6 separate regions of the Homo sapiens genome follow, and regions 1, 2, 3, 4 and 6 are each linked to region 5. The links are contacts of gene promoters, found by promoter capture Hi-C in blood cells and fetal thymus (Javierre and others, 2016). All regions are on one chromosome and are shown on one strand. The core of a region is centred on a gene start or on the middle of the fragment in contact, and the rest is flanking DNA. Distances in the headings are between cores, read along the strand shown. Region 1 has its middle 24 kb from the start of ANKRD10. Region 2 has its middle 32 kb from the start of LINC00368. Region 3 overlaps COL4A1 (collagen type IV alpha 1 chain). Region 4 has its middle 5.0 kb from the start of PRECSIT. Region 5 holds the start of NAXD (NAD(P)HX dehydratase). Region 6 overlaps ANKRD10 (ankyrin repeat domain 10).

What was found. Contacts are between HindIII fragments. The CHiCAGO score rates a contact against its expected background, and 5 or more counts as called.
Region 1: a contact is called between a fragment that was not itself captured here and the fragment with the promoter of NAXD in region 5, in 1 of 17 cell types (naive B cells). The highest score is 5.0, in naive B cells.
Region 2: a contact is called between a fragment that was not itself captured here and the fragment with the promoter of NAXD in region 5, in 1 of 17 cell types (naive B cells). The highest score is 5.2, in naive B cells.
Region 3: a fragment that was not itself captured here is called in contact with the fragment with the promoter of NAXD in region 5 in 1 of 17 cell types (M0 macrophages); the score reaches 5.3 in M0 macrophages.
Region 4: a fragment that was not itself captured here is called in contact with the fragment with the promoter of NAXD in region 5 in 3 of 17 cell types (total CD8 T cells, naive CD8 T cells and naive B cells); the score reaches 5.7 in total CD8 T cells.
Region 6: a contact is called between a fragment that was not itself captured here and the fragment with the promoter of NAXD in region 5, in 1 of 17 cell types (activated CD4 T cells). The highest score is 5.3, in activated CD4 T cells.

The regions. Positions count from the first base shown.
Region 1 is chr13:110,937,332-110,940,031 of GRCh38, forward strand. It overlaps the pseudogene PARP1P1. Among named protein-coding and RNA genes, the nearest start is that of ANKRD10, 24 kb to the left of the region's middle. The HindIII fragment of the contact is 2,483 bases long and covers 126-2,608 here.
Region 2 is chr13:111,062,362-111,065,061 of GRCh38, forward strand. No RefSeq gene overlaps it. Among named protein-coding and RNA genes, the nearest start is that of LINC00368, 32 kb to the right of the region's middle. RefSeq lists an enhancer at 1,688-2,218. The HindIII fragment of the contact is 723 bases long and covers 1,004-1,726 here.
Region 3 is chr13:110,215,806-110,218,547 of GRCh38, forward strand. All of the region lies in intron 2 of COL4A1 (collagen type IV alpha 1 chain), which reads right to left. Among named protein-coding and RNA genes, the nearest start is that of LINC03082, 88 kb to the left of the region's middle. The HindIII fragment of the contact is 1,530 bases long and covers 701-2,230 here.
Region 4 is chr13:110,873,918-110,876,617 of GRCh38, forward strand. No RefSeq gene overlaps it. Among named protein-coding and RNA genes, the nearest start is that of PRECSIT, 5.0 kb to the left of the region's middle. RefSeq lists a silencer at 752-971. The HindIII fragment of the contact is 4,114 bases long and covers 1-2,700 here.
Region 5 is chr13:110,614,200-110,616,899 of GRCh38, forward strand. NAXD (NAD(P)HX dehydratase) reads left to right here and starts at 1,346. Exons shown (of 10, transcript NM_001242882.2): 1 at 1,346-1,448. The coding sequence starts at 1,403. It overlaps NAXD-AS1 (NAXD antisense RNA 1), which reads right to left and starts at 2,154. Exons shown (of 1, transcript NR_182301.1): 1 at 1-2,154. RefSeq lists enhancers at 427-1,354, 2,256-2,305, 2,326-2,375 and silencers at 1,556-1,805, 1,816-1,975. The HindIII fragment of the contact is 4,814 bases long and covers 1-2,700 here.
Region 6 is chr13:110,890,977-110,893,676 of GRCh38, forward strand. ANKRD10 (ankyrin repeat domain 10) reads right to left here. Exons shown (of 6, transcript NM_017664.4): 4 at 2,052-2,287. Among named protein-coding and RNA genes, the nearest start is that of PRECSIT, 22 kb to the left of the region's middle. The HindIII fragment of the contact is 9,032 bases long and covers 1-2,700 here.

The DNA of each region.
Region 1 (2,700 bases), core at 117-2,616, 320 kb after region 5:
TAAAGAAACCCTGAAGAAGCAGCTCCCAGGAGTCAAGAGTGAAGGAAAGAGAGAAGGCGATGAGGTGGATGGAGTGGATGAAGTGGCCAAGAAGAAATCTAAAAAAGAAAAAGACGAGGATGGTAAGCTTGAAAAGGCCCTAAAGGCCCAGAACGACCTGATCTGGAACATCAAGGACGAGCTAATGAAAGTGTGCTCTATTAATGACCTGAAGGAGATGCTCATCTTCAACAGGCAGCAGGTGCCTTCCGGGGAGTCGGCGATCTTGGACCGAGTAGCTGACAGCATGACGTTCGGTGCCCTCCTTCCCTGTGAGGAATGCTCAGGTCAGCTGGTCTTCAAGAGCGACACTTATTACTGCACCGGGGACGTCACGGCCTGGACCAAGTGTATGGTCAAGACATGGACACCCAACCAGAAGGAATAGGTGATCCCACCGAGAAATCTCTTAACTCAAGAAATTTAAGGTTAAAAAGCAGGACCGTATATTCCCCCCAGAAACCAGTGACCCAGTGGCGGCCATGCCCCCACCCTCCACAGCCTCCGAGCCTGCTGCCATGAACGCCTCTGCTCCAGCAGATAAGCCGTTATCCAACATGAAGATCCTTACTCTTGGGAAGCTCTCCCGGAACAAGGATGAAGTGAAGGCCACGATTGAGAAACTCGGGGGAAAGTTGATGGGGACGGCCAACAAGGCTTCTCCGTGCATCAGCACTAAAGAGGAGGTGGAAAAGAAGAAGAAGAAGATGGAGGAAGTGAAAGAAGCCAACATCTGAGCTGTGTCTGAGGACTTCCTCCAGGACTTCTCTGCCTCCACCAAGGGGCTCCAGGAGTTGTTCTCAGCGCACATCTTGTCCCCCTGGGGGGCAGAAGTGAAGGCAGAGCCTGTTGAAGTCGTAGCCCCAAGAGGGAAGTCAGGAGCTGTGCTCTCCAAAAAAAGCAAGGGCCAGGTCAAGGAGGAAGGTATCAACAAATCTGAAAAGAGAATGAAATTAACTCTTAAAGGAGGAGCAGCTGTGGATCCTGACTCTGGTCTGGAACACTCTGCACATGTTCTGGAGAAAGGTGGGAAGGTCTTCAGTGCCACCCTCAGCCTGGTGGACGTCGTTAAAGGAACCAACTCCTATTACAAGCTGAAGTTGCTGAAGGATGACAAGGAAAGCAGGCATTGGATATTCAAGTCCTGGGACCGTGTGGGCACGGTGATCGGTAGCAACAAACTGGAACAGATGCTGTCCAAGGAGGACACCACTGAACACTTCATGAAATTATATGAAGAAAAACTAGGAATGCTTGGCACTCCAAAAATTCACAAAGTATCCCAAAAAGTTCTACCCCCTGGAGATTGACTACGGCCAGGACAAAGAGGCGGTGAAGAAGCCGACAGTAAATCCTGGCACCAAGTCCATGCTCCCCAAGCCAGTTCAGGACCTCATCAAGATGATCTTTGATGTGGAAAGTATGAGCAAAGCCATGGTGGGGTGTGAGATCGACCTTCAGATGCCCTTGGGGAAGCTGAGCAAAAGGCAAATCCAGGCCGCGTACTCCATCCTCAGGTCCAGCAGGTGGTGTCCCAGGGCAGCAGCGACTCTCAGATCCTGGATTTCTCAAATCGCTTTTACATCCTGATCCCCCACGACTTTGGGATGAAGGATCCTCTGCTCCTGAACAATGCAGACAGTGTGCAGGCCAAGGTAGAAATGCTGGACAACCTGCTGGACATTGAGGTAGCCTACGGTCTGCTCAGGGGAGGGTCTCACGATAGCAGGAAGGACTCCATCGATGTCAACTATGAGAAGCTCAAAACTGACATTAAGGTGGTTGACAGAGATTCTGAAGAAGCTGAGATCATCAGGAAGTATGTTAAGAACACTCATGCAACCAACCACACACGATGCATATGACTTGGAAGTCATTGATAGCTTTAAGATAGAGTGTGAAGAGGAGTGCCAGCACTACAAGCCCTTTAAGCAGCTTCATAACTGAAGGTTGCTGTGGCATGGGTCCAGGACCACCAACTTTGCTGGGATCCTGTCCCTGGGTCTTTGGATAGCCCTGCCTGAAGCACCTGTGATGGGCTACATGTTTGGTAAAGTGATCTATTTCGCTGATCTTGTCTCCAAGAGTGCCAACGACTGCCATACATCTTAGGAAGACCCAATAGGGTTAATCCTGTCGGAAGAAGTTGCCCTTGGAAACGTGTGTGAACTGAAGCATGCTTCACATATCAGCAAGTTACCCAAGGGCAAGCACAGTGTCAAAGGTTTGGGCAAAACTACTCCTGACCTTTCAGCTAGTATCCCACTGGATGGTGTAGAGGTTCCTCTTGGGACCAGGGTTTCATCTGGTGTGAATGACACCTGTCTACTGTATAATGAGTACATTGTCTATGATATTGCTCAGGTAAATCTGAAATATCTGCTGAAACTGAAATTCAATTTTAAGACCTCCTTGTGGTAATTGGGAGAGGTGGCTGAGTCACACACGGTGACTCTGGTATTAATTCACCCTAAGCGCTTCTGCACCAACTCACCTGGCTGGCTAAGTTGCTGGTGGGTAGTACCTGTACTAAACCTCCTCAGAAAGGATTTTGCAGAAATGCATTAAAAGCTTTTTCCCAAATTTTTTAGTCTCTTGTTTTGTGTTGTGTTTGTGGGGAGGGGTTGTTTTTGTTTTTTCTTGCCAGGTAGATAAAACTGA
Region 2 (2,700 bases), core at 115-2,614, 450 kb after region 5:
CTCCCCAAGGTTTAGAGCGGGCGGCAATCATGGCTTCATCTCTCTCTGGGGTTAAGAGCAGGTGGTGAACACTGCTCCATCTCTTCCTGGGGCTTAGGGCAGGCAGCGGTCACAGCTCCGTCTCTCCCTGGGGTTTACAGCAGATGGTGGTCACTGCTCCACTCCTCCCCAGGGTTTAGAGCAGGCAGCGGTGGTCACCACCTGGTGGTCCATCTCTCCTCGTTGGTAGGACTTTGCAGGCTGTGGGCTGCCTGTTGTCTGGTTCAGCAGAAGTGTACAAGCATCACTGTTGAGGGTGAAGCTCCGCCCCATCTCTGCTCACTCTCTTTTCCTAAAGATCAAGTTGCCCTACTTTTATTTCTAATTGAGTCAGTTAGAAAACCAACTTGTTTTTCTAGTTGCCTAGATGACCAAGTAGGGTACCTAAGAAGCGAATCTGTAAGTAATAAGCATCTAAAGTTGTGCTTTATAGATGATCTTCAGAGTGACCTGTTTATTACTCTAAATGATGAATCAGATACCAGTCTCCACTGTAGAAACATCCTTCCTATCCTAAACAAAATGGAACTCCTGACTATATTCCTGGTCTTCTACCCAATTGGGGATGTAATTCAAGTGTGTCAGGCCTCTGAGCCCACGCTAAGCCATCATATCCCCTGTGACCTACATGTATACATTCACATGGCCTGAAGCACCTGAAAAACCACAAAAGAAGTGAAAATAGCCAGTTTATGCCTTAACTGATGACATTCCACCATTGTGATTTGTTCCTGCCCCACCCTAACTGATCAATTGACCATGTGACATTCCTTCTCCTGGACAATGAGTCTTAAGAGCTCCCCCACCGAGCACCTTGTGACCCCCACCCTTGCCCACAAGAGAAAAACCTCCTTTAACTGTAAATTTTCCACTACCTACCCAAATCCTGTAAAACTGCCCCTCCCCATCTCCCTTTGCTGACTCCTTTTTCAGACTCAGTCAGCCTGCACCCAGGTGATTAAAAAGCTTTATTGCTCACACAAAGCCTGTTTGGTGGTCTCTTCACACAGATGCACATAACAAAGTGTGGGTGATGCGAACAATGTTTATGTAATCAACTTTTGGTTAAATCCCTTCCTTAAAGATTTGAATCTTGGTCTAGAACATCACTCTGGAATGTCATATTTATTGTATCATGTAAATGTCCAATTTAACATCCTATAACCCCACGGCATATTGGGTACACGTGCGGCACAAGTTACCTTATACTCTGAACAAGAAATGGGTCAGGAAGAATACGAGCCTTGTCCTTGCAGATTTTCTCAATTATTCGTCATCTATAATGCATATGTGTAGGGAAACTGGCAGGATGTAGAAATGAATAAAAAGAGGAAACATCTTTTTTCCTTGCTTTATATGACCAGCAATCAGTGCCACTGATGTAGCAAGTGCCATGTAAACATCAGTTATTTTATTCATGTCAATGATCCTGTGTGCTAGAAATTACCTCATTTTATTTATGGGGTGACAGAGGCTCAGAGAGATTAAATAACATGCTGGAGTCTTACATCTTGCAGGCAGCAGAGCCAGGATTTAAACTCACCCAGAGCCTGTGCTTTTCCCTGTGTGCCACGAAGCCCACACACAGCAGTCCACTCTCCTCCAGGTCCCTCACTGCATCTTCCATTCTTCTGGGCAAGGCCTGAGAGCAGAGGCCCTGAAGCCCAGGGCCCAGGCCCCTCAGGGAAGCTTCTGGTGTAAAGCAAAAATAAAATGCTAAGCCCCCTAACCATCTGAATGAACCCCTCTTCTTGGAATGCCAAGGGCATTCCAAAGTTAATCTGAAAAACGAGTTCAGGCTATGATGGGAAGCAGGGGTTGGACATGCCTCAATATACCTTCCGCCCTTTTGGAATTCAGGCACAGCTGACCAGCATTAACATCAACACAGACTTTAAGTCTGATAAGAAGCATTTACAATCTATTCTCTGTGAAGCCTGCTACCTGGAGGCTTCATCTGCATGACAAAACCTGGCTCTCCACAATCCCTTATTATAACCCAGACACTCCCTTCTATTGATTCCAGGTCTTTAGATAAAAACTCTTTCAACCAATTGCCAATCAGAAATTCTTTGAGTCTACCTGTGACCTGGAAGCCCCTGCTTCAAGTTGTCCCACCTTTCCTGACCCAACGAATGTACACCTTACCTGTATTGATTGATGTCTTAAGTCCCCCTAAAATGTATAAAACCAAGGTGTAGCCTGACTACCTTGGGCACATGTTCTCCTGACCTCCTGAGGTTGTGTCACAAGTCATTGGTCCCTCATATTTGGTCAGAATAAACCTCTTCAAATGTTTTACAGAGCTTGACGCTTTTCGTCCACACTATGCAAAGAGAACAAGACAGGGATGGGAGATTTTGGTTCCACTTGGTGGCCAAGGCTCCTGGTTTCTAACCACATGCAGGACCAAGCTGGCACGGCCTGTCACAGCACCCACATCCCTACTGCCTTCTGGAAGCTGCTCCTTTTCCTTCAGGGCTAAGCAGGGACCCAGACCCCTTCCTTCACTGTCCTGGAGGCTCCAGCACCTGGTCACATTTCTGCTCTCAGCCTTGAAATGTGGAGGGCTCATCTCATCTTCTCAGAAAGTAAAACATGTGGCAGCCTCAGTGAGCCCATACAGTTTTCTTCAGGGCAGCCCACATGGCACCTGGCATG
Region 3 (2,742 bases), core at 216-2,715, 400 kb before region 5:
ACATAACATAAACATCCAAAGTCGTCCTTCTTTCCAAACCACTCAGCCAGTCCTGGCACTTAACTGGTGAATTAACTGCCTGCTCCATTTTTACAAACGCAGGAAGGACGTTATGAACCTGGGACTCAGCCGCCACACCTCCATAGAGCTGTGTTTCGTTGAAAGGATATGTCAGGAGTCTAGACACAGTATGTGGATAAATATGGGAGAGATTGTTTCAAACCCTAAAGAATTGAATCAAACAGTAAATGGATTAAAGAACCTCAAGCCCCATACTGTGGCACTGCCCCTTCAGGCCAGCAGCATCCAGGGAGTCGGCCAGAAGCACAGACGTGACTCCACGAGGGCCCTGATCCCAAGGTTTGACAGGGAAGGCTGGCTCCTTCTCCCTGAGGCCTGTGACAGTGAGGAAGGAAAAACATTCCCAGACCAGGACTTGTTCAAATGAAGAGCTCCTTAAATACACCCTGCAGTGATGGCCCCAGGACACAATGGCAGAAAATCCTGCTGTAAGGAGTTACAGTGCACAAGGTCACCAATCTGGGGCACCCAGTTTTCGGATATAGGAAAAGTCTGCTCAAACCAGAATAGGACTGAACTCCAAACAGCGGCTAAAATAAATAAATAAATATGGACTTGTGTAGCCCCAAGTAACCCAACATCAGACAGGAAGGAAATGAGAAAGGCAGGTCCATGTAGAAGCTTTCTAATACATTTGGTGGAGTATTTTTAGTACTTAATTAATATGGGCAGTATCGCCATGAGACCAGCGATGATAAGATTTTATAATTCTCAATTTAACCATGGAATGCACTGAGGACCAGAGCCAGATTAACTGATTTCTACAAGTTTCTCACTGAGTCAGCACTACAGCCAGAAATAGAAATGAGGTCAGCCTCCACCATAGTCCCTGTTTTTTCTGGGTCACTAGAGCAAGCCGGTTCCCAGCAGAACATCAAACAATTCACCAACTTCATGTCAGCCCAAGGTACCGACCCTTCTATGTCCATTTCACAGATAGGGAAATTAAGATTCCGATGCTTAACTGACTTGTCGTACGTCACTGGGTGACCCCTCGTGCTGCTGGGAACAGAACACAGAAATCCAAATTCCCAGACCTTGCTTTTACCGCAAGAACACATTCTTTCCCAAATGTCACCAGAAAGTTTAAGCAATCTGTGTATCCCCAGAGCTTTGAAATGAAGGAGCTAAGAAGGAAGTGACTCCTCCATGGACATGGTTCTTGCCATTCCCCACATATTTTTTTAACGTTCTTAATCTTTTGTCCAGATAAAAGTGCACACGAATAATCTAATACTCTGTACCCTGTCCAAGGTTATTATGGGAACCAGAGCAGAGCAAACGGACAGAATAAGCACTTAAACAGCTATACAGTTAGCTGGCGACCAGCATGCAGTATGGGGCCAAATTATTCCTCCAAGATTTTAGCACATTTCCACCAGGATTGTAAGAAGAGCAAAGAGCTGGACATGTTGTGCAAAGGTTATTGGAGCTAGCAGGGTCCAAGCCAGACTTTGCAGCTGCAACTGGCAATGCTACTAACGTGACCACAGTGACCCCCCACTTCCACTGGAGCTCAAGGCAGAATGTGCACAGTTAGAGTCAGGGAGCAACAGGACCCTCGATCATCTGTTTCCCATGGTGTGCTCAAGGCAAGGTCCAAAAATCCATGGCGGCCACAGACTTCATGTCAGGCAAAAATGAAAACCACAACCATTGTCTGTCACAGCAAAGACTATTTAAAATGGAAGAAAGAAACGAGAAACTTGAAAAATACTACACAGAAAGTTTTCGTGCAGCTGAACCTTGTGCTCTCATTCCTGAACATCAGTGCAATGCAGAGCACTGATCAAAAAAGGAAAATCATACGCCAAAGCCGGAGATGACTACTGCTGTGTCCCCAAATGATGAAATTCAGAATTTGTGGAGGGAGAACAAAGTGCCATTGTCTATAAAGATGAAAGAATACAACATGGAGAATAATCTTAGCACCAAAATTAGGCATTGTAAATTAGGCATGAAATAGGGTTTCATGCATGGAGCAACTTAAAATTCTTGCTTAATGCATTATCTAAAGCAAGCATATACTTTTTAAAAAATCCTTAAAATGCGTGGATAGAAAGTCATTTTATAATACCCAATTATTTCCCTTCCTCTTCCAATGCTTGTAGAAACAAGTTCATGATTCAGGAAAGCAAATACTCTAATAAGCTTCCGTCATAGCTAAGTCAGAAATTCAAATACAAATCAAATACCCAGGACAGCTGAAGTTAAAATAGCATGAAGCTTCTAAATGTGGGGGGAAAATATAATTACCAACAACAAAAACTGATGTTAACACAAAATATACCTAGAATAAGCAGTCATCAAAATTCTTACTGTCAAAGGCCTGTTTCAGTGGCTGACATGGAATCCATATCTTTAAATCAAAATTTTAATGGATTTTTCCAATCTGAAATATTAGGATCACGGATCTTCACAATGGACTGAAGCACACACAGAGATGCTGCCAGCTCTCGGGGGCTTCCTCTACGCACGGAATGAGTACGGGTACCGGGTTTGGTACTGAGCACTGAGTGTACTGGGTATGGCAGCCTCCATGTGCTGGGTGCATCCAAGGGAAACAAGCAATGCTTATCAGGGAAACTGCAATTCCTTCTCCACCTCAACCCTGTAACTTCTTCACAGGCAATGAAATTGTTTTATTCATTCATGGTGTTT
Region 4 (2,700 bases), core at 122-2,621, 260 kb after region 5:
ACACCCACATGCAACATTCACACACATCCACACGTGCACAATAGCCACACACGTTCACACATGCACACATATAACATGTTTCACATACACTACCACCCATGCACATCAGCCACACATATAAAACAGTCACACCTGCACACACACAGTCACAAACGTCACACACATATAGCATTCACACATGCACAGCAGCCACATTTACACACATCCACATGCATCACACATTCATACACATCTGCACACACGTCACACAAATCAACATTCATACGTGCGCACACATCATACACATCCACACACATCACGTACATTCACACATAAACATTCACACATTCACACACACCAGATTACCACTCACATCCAATACTCAACGCTTCCCTTCACATTCTCACACATTTGCACACTCACACATTGCCAACGACACACTTCCCTCCACATTCCCCCTACATTCCCACACTGACACGCTCTCACACACTCCCAGTCCTCGCACACATTTGCACACTCACATCCATACATGGACACACATCCTCATGCTCGCTCACTCACATGCATTTGCAAACACTGATACACATCCTCACACGCACACTCGCACACTCAGGGTCTCCCTGGCTGCAGCTGTGCCCGGGCTCACTGTTACCGTTGCTCAGTGCAGACTCTTGGGGTGGTGTCCACCTCCAGCCCCCAGCTCCAGCCGTGCCCTGCCGCAGCCCCCGCTACCCTCCCACCGCCCCGGGACCCCTCACCCGCCCCGGCCCATCCCAACCACGGCCTCGCCCCAACCTTGGCTGCGGTTCCCCAAGCAGAGCCGCGCCAGAACCGCCCGGCTCACCCCCCTCTCCCCGCCCCTGCGCCTCTCTCCCGGTTCCCGCCCTCCTGATGGTTCGTCCCTGCACCCGCGCCGGCGCCCCGCCCCCGGTTCCCGCCCTCCCGAGGGCTCCTCCCTTCCACCCGCTGCCTGTTTCTTGGCTCCCCCTTTCCGGGAAACTCTTCAATGTTTCCCATGTTCTGTCTCCAAATTATTCTCCCGTTTTCTTCTCCTTAATAAAACCCCGAAAATCCAACCTATGGAAAAGTCAAAAAGGGTAATTCAATGAATACCCAGTCTACATTTTCCAGTATTTATCACTAGTTGCTTAGATCTCATCATTCAAAACATTCCAGCAGTTCTCTCACTGTGGCCTGCAGAACCCCAGGGTCCCCAGGACCCCATTTCAGGGGGTCCCCAAAATCAAAACGGTCTCATTACCGAGATGTGATTTGCCTTTTTCAGTGTTGACTTCGGCACTGAGGGTTCAAAAGAAATGGTGGGTAAAGCTACTAGCACCTTAGCAAAAACTGCCCCGGCCTGATCACCTTCATATTCTTCACTGCCGTGCAGTCAAAAAAAAGAAAAAAACCCAATTTCACTTAAGAATGCCCTCAATGCTGTAAACATGAGTAAATTTTGACAGCACACGTTCTCTGTGATGTAAAGGGAAGTGTGCATGAAGGATTTGTTGTGTACAGCTGTCTCCAGGAAAAGCACGGCTCTGGCTGATTGTGCGATAAGTGTATCCAGTGACTTTTTCAGAAACGTCATTTTCATTTGAAATAATGATTGACAAGCTATGTGATTAAAAAAAAAATAACCAGGTTGTAATGCAGTGGCTCAAGCCTGTAATCCCCGCACTTTAGGAGGCCAAAGTGGGCGGATTGCTTGAGGTCAGGAGTTTGAGACAACCTGGGTAAAATAGTGAGACCCCATCCCCCCAAAAAAAAAAAAAATTGCCGGGCATGGTGGTGCACGACTGGAGTCCCAGCTACCTCCAAGGCTGAGTCAGGAGGATCCCTTGAGCCCAGGAAGTCAAGGCTGTAAGGAGCCAAAATCGCATCACTGCACTCCAGCTTGTGCGACAGAGTGAGACCCCGTCTCAATTTAAAAAAACCAAAAAATTAACCAAGTGAGTCTTCTACTTCAAGGAAAACTGACAGTATTTGTGTCCAATGATAAAATTTGAGTTTTTCAGCAAAAATCAGGATGTTGTAAAACTTGTATCCAGTACCATGAGCTTGACAACTTCCAACTTTTGACTTTCATGAGATTATTGGTGATCAATGTTTTATTTTTTTGAGACAGAGTCTTGCTCTGTTGCCCAGGTTGGAATGCAGTGGCGTGATCTCGGCTCACTGCAACCTCTGCCTCCCAGGTTCAAGCGATTCTCCTGCCTCAGCCTCCCAAGTAGCTGGGATTACAGGTGCGTGCCACCACACCCAGCTATTTTTTTTTTTTTGTATTTTTAGTAGAGATGGGGTTTCACCTTGTTAGCCAGCATGGTCTCTATCTCCTGACCTCATGATCCACCTGCCTCGGCCTCCCAAAGTGCTGGGATTACGGGCGTGAGCCACCGCACCTGGCTGGTTATCAATGTTTTAATATTAATGAAAAGTTTCAACATTTGAAAGACTTGCAGAACTCAATTAAAAAATATTTCCCAAGTAATGCATAAAAAATTATGCATGGGTTAAAGGTCCATTCTAAGTGAAAGATGGACTCTACAGGAACGATACAAGAAGCTCACTGATGTGGATCCTGATTCAACATTGCAACTAGCCTTTAAGAAACTACTGTTACTGAATGGAAGGTCTTGACTGCGAGTTGTCCAGGTTCCTGGTGCAGCTGAATAAAGAATGGAACCAAACACACAAAGCAACAAAAGAAGTAAACAA
Region 5 (2,700 bases), core at 96-2,595:
ACGCCCGGCCTCTTCATAATAAATCTTGCTGCTGCTCACTCTTTGGGTCTATGCCACCTTTAAGAGCTGTAACACTGTGAAGGTCCGCAGCTTCATTCTTGAAGTCAGTGAGACCATGAACCCACCGGCAGGAACTAACTCCACACATAGTTATAGTTATCTCTTGATTATAGGCTAAATAAGGAGGGGATTATTCATGAGTTTTCTGGGAAAGAGGTTGGCAATTGCTGGAACTGAGGGTTCCTCCCCTTTTTAGACCATATAGAGTAATTTCCTGATGTTGCCATAGCATTTGTAAACTCTCATGGCGCTGGTAGGAGTGTCCTTTAGCATGCTAATACGTTATAATCAGCAAATAATGAGCAATGAGGACACAGAGGTCACTTTTGTGGCCATCTTGGTTTTGGTAGGCTTTGGGCCAGTTTCTTTACTGTGTCATCTTATCAGTGCGGTCTTTGTGACCTGTATCTTGTGCCCACCACCTCATCCTGTGGCCAAGAATGTCTAACCCCCTGGGAATGCAGCCCAGTAGGTCTCACCCTCATTTTACCCAGTCCCTATTCAAGATGGAATCGCTCTGGTTAAAAGGCCTCTGACATGTTGAGCCATCCTTTCACCTCAGCCTCTCAAGTAGCTGGACTACAGGTGTGCCACACCATCCCCTGCTAATTTTCCAAAAAAATTTTGGTAGAGAAGGGGGTCTCCTTATGTTGTCCAGGCTGGTCTCAAACTCCTGGGCTCAAACGATCCTTCCATCTTGGCCTCCCAAAGCATTGGGATCACACGCGCGAGCCACCGCACCTGGCCCCACAAGTTTCTTTTAGCACCATGACGGTGGCTTCAAATAGGGCGGCAGTGGAGGTAAGAGGCCATCAGCCACAGGAGGAGCGTGGGTGGGAGGGCAGGAGAGGTCAGAATGCCTTCCAGGGGTTTGGGCCTCAGCGTTGGAGTGATGGAGCTGCCCTGACCTGAGACGGTGGAAAGCGAAGGGGCCTCGCAGCGAGCTGGTTTGGGGTTCAGGGCAGAGGTTGCGCCTGGAGCAGAAAGGCACCTGACTGCTATACTGGGGGCACATAGTGGGCCTCGGCACTCCACCTGCCAGCAAAATCATTTTCTATAACGCCGCAAGCCTAAAAATGGGCCGATAAACACAAACCAGACCCTGAACCAGATCGTTGTTAACTCTTCAACCTGCCTTCCAGCCGAACCTCTTAGGCCAGAGCTGGGACCAGGCCGGGTTGGGCGTCGCGCTTGTCAATCATCTAGAACCGGGTGTGATTGAGCGAGTTGGGATCCCACTGCCGACAGCCGCGCGGAGGCGGTCGGGAAACCGGAAAACGCTTCCAATGGCTGTGTTTCCGGCGACGGCGCGGGGGCAGCTGGGAATCCGGAATGCTGCCCGATGGCCCTGGGTCCTCGCTGTGGGGCAATCCGGGCTTGCAGACGAGGTAAGGTCGATTCCATTTGGCCCGGGGATGGTCACACGCGCGGGGGCCGGAACTGCCGTCGCCGGCGCGGTCGTTGTCGCATTGCTCTCGGCCGCACTCGCGCTGTACGGGCCGCCACTGGACGCAGGTACCCGACCGCTGACCGCCTCTGCTGGCTCGCGGGGGGGAAGCGCCGCCGAGGGGCAGCCCGCGCGCGGGGCCGGGGCGCCGTGTGGCCTGCGGGGCGGAGTAGGGAGAGGACGGAGGCCTCCTGGAACGGCGCGGCGACGGCTGGGCGCGGCTTGGGTGATGGGAGCCTCCGTGCGGGGTGACAGAGGGGCAGAGGGTGGCGCCGGGCCGGAGCCAGTGCGCGTCCCAGGAGCGGCGGAGCCCGCGCGGTGGCCGGGGAACGGGGGGCCGAGGGCCGAGGACGGTAGGAGGGCCCTGGGGCGCCGTGGTGCGCTGGTCGGATCCGTCTGCTCTGCTCTGTCCCCGCTCCCGGTCTGGGAAAGATGCTCGCCAACTGCGGGCTTGCTGTTTGGTCGGAGCTGGATACGGGGGCCCTCCTGGGGCCCAGGGACGCGGCGGGCGTGCAGGCGAGCTGGCCGGCTGAGCGGGCTTCGCGCACACCAGGAGCAGGGCCGTGTCTGCATCCCCAATTTGAAGTCCCAGTGCGACTGGGCAAGTACAGACCCTGCACGTCCTTGGACGAGAGGGACTGGATATTGCGACGCCTGGGCCGCAGAAAAGGACTCCACCAGCCAGGCCTCCTTCGCCCGCCCCCGGTTCGGGGTGTGTGTGTGCGTGTAGGAGGTCCCTTGGGGAGGGAGGCTCACCTGAGTCATCCCCAGAACCTGAAGTGCTGGCCAGATGTCCCCGAGGGCCCTGCCCTGGCCTTGGCTGGTCCTTGCACGCTGAGATGCCTTTTCAAATAGAACGGATAAGGTAGAAAGAATTTAAACAGGAGCTGAGCAAGTGCTTGGAGCCCCATCTCTTCATAGGGTTTTTTTGTCTTTCTGTTTGCCTTGTTGGTATTGGTGTATCTAACATATTTTATACAGGAAGTAGTTCGTGTATATCTCATTTCTCATAAGGAGAGATTGCTGTTATCCACCTTGGTATAGAAGATAAATAGAAGCTCAGAGAAAGTGACTTAGCCAGGATTCTCCAGCCAGTGAGTGGCCGAAATGGTTAAACGCACCATTTGTTGCTGTAGTCATTAGATAGATTTTACCTTGTGTGTATGTTGGGCATCGTCAGAGAGTTTGGCTTT
Region 6 (2,700 bases), core at 2-2,501, 280 kb after region 5:
AAGCAATGTGGTATTGGCCAATTCAACTGACCTTAGAAACTCTGAGACTAGTTTTACGAACTCTTCTAGGTGCATTTTGAGTCCAATTAGCATGTTAAGTGATCTCTTTTTAAAAATACTAAACAGAATTTAAGATTTATCAGCAATAAGAGAAAATGAAGCATAAATCATTTTTCAAGGACATTTAGACTATACAGTGACATACAGGGACAGACATGTACAATTCGTGCATGAGGGCATGAGGCCACTCTACAATACTAACCAGGCTTTAATTAAAGGAAATGACAAAGGATTTTTTTAAAAAGTGGATGCTCTTAAAAAGGCGTTGAAACTACATTAGAAAAAATATATTAAAACATGGTACAAATAAATGACAATGCTGAATACATCACCATTAAAAAAGACCATTTTGAATTTTATGCAGATCTTCATGTCATGCTTATGATTTTAGCATCTTTCCAGAAATGCTTAACTCATAAAAATCTTGAATTTGATAAAACTGTTAAGTTCATACATTACTATAAAAAGTCTTATCACAGGAATTTTTATGGTGACAAGATATAGTTGTGAAGTACATAATACTGACATTTTATCAACTTTATAGGGAAAAAATGTTTCACTTGGACACACTCATTAAATAAGGTAGAAAAGATGATGTTGGTTCATGAAATTTAACCAAAATCTCTAGATTTTTAAGTGATTAACTGATAGTCACTCAGTTTTCCTTATGCTGTAACTTGCACGGTTGATTTTTTTAAACCAACGGGCAAAACTTTGTGCTTATACTCAGCAAATCTGAGCTCATAATCTGCTTCATTACTTCACACTCCCACCTCTCCCCCTAAGTTCACTAAATATGCCTGCCAAGCTATCACATTTACCTTCTTATTAAGACTTTTTTTTTTTTTTTTTTTTAAATAGAGACAAGGTCTCACTATGTTGCCCAGGCTGGTCTCGAACTCCTGAGCTCAAGTAATCCTCCTGCCTCAGCCTCCCAAAGTGCTGGGATTACAGGTATGAGCCATGACAACTGGCCTAAGACATCTTATATATAGATATAGATGATTTTCCTATAGGAAAGGGAGATGTTTTCAACTTCAAGAGTGACTGGCTGACTGCTTATTTGCAAACTCAAACCTACCTTAAAAACAAAAAACAAAAAACCCAAAAAACGGCTAGGCACAGTGGCTCATGCCTGTAATCCCAGCACTTTGGGAGGCCGAGGCAGGTGGCTTACTGGAGGCCAGGAGTTCAAGACCAGCCTGGCCAACATGGTGAAGCCCCTTCTCTACTAAAAATACAAATTAGCCCAGTGTGATAGCATGCACCTGTAATCCCAGCTACTTGGGAGGCTGAGACAGGAGAATTGCTTTAACTTGGGAGCCGGAGGTTGCAGTGAGCCGAGATCACAGCATTGCACTCCAGCCTGGGTGACAGAGCAAAAAAAAAAAAAAAAAAAATGGTGGGAGAATACTTACAACGAAAATAACTTACCTTAGGGACTTAAATCCTCAAGATCAAATTATACACCAGATCTTGCTGTGATAAGTCAACACACATGTGAGGTACAGAGACCACTGAGGTCAAATCATAGTACAGAAATAGTACAGAAAACATTCACCTTCCCGAATGTGAAAATGTTTTACTGCCAGACCATCAGCAATTTTTATAAGCCCAGGAACATTTACAAGAAGCAAATTAAAAAAAAAAAAAAATTCAGGCACAGTGGCAGATTTTCTTTAATAGATATATTTCAAACAGATACAACAAATTAAAAAATCTAATTCATGGCAGGTAAACATGGGTGCTCAAAAAGTTCCACATAGACATTTACACTTGGGCCATCAGTATTTCCCTCACATTCCCTTTTGTTAAGTCCCATCTTCGCAGTGGCAGTACAGGAGAAATCTCCACCGTCACCGCACAATCCACCAGGCGCATTACCACCTGAAGTGAAGGTCTCATCTCGAAGGTGCGCTCAGCCATAAAAAGAAAACATATTACAGAAAGGAAAAATAAGTGTGCTCTTCCCACCCGCAAAGCGGTCTCACCTTCAGTTCTAGCTTTCTTTACTCCAAAGTCTTCTGAGTCTTCCAAGCATCTCTTTCGATTTGTTCCCACACTAATATGATTAGGAAATACATTCTGATGACCCCCATTTAAGATGCCATTGTTATAGAAATGGTTCAGATGACAATTCTGGAGGTTCAAGAGAAACTGGGCACACTCTTGGAAACCCTGGGTTTGTGCAATGTCTGCTGCTGTCAGGCCACTGGCATTTCTCAGGCTGTACAACACAAAAACACTGAATTACACCCCATCCGCGTGCTAACCTGGTCTCTGCTCCTGCTGAACTGACTAGCTATCTGAAGGTGGTATGAAAGAGTAAACAAATTCATAGCAAATCTTCATTAAAGAAGTAGTTAATCAATCTAGCTCTGTAACTAACTTCTCTTATATACATTTGATTTCTAAGCAAGATTTGGGAGATAAACTAAATATGCTAAACTTCTAAAAAAGGCATCTTCCTATTTAACTTCTCAAAATCATGTTTTATGTTAGTCTGAAGAATCTAAATTTACGCTAACTTCAGACTTGAAACTGAATTCTATATTATATGCACTTAATTTTAATACCCATTCCTTTAGCGTGAATAAAATCATAACAAACAACATGTACTGAGATTGTCCATGGCATTCA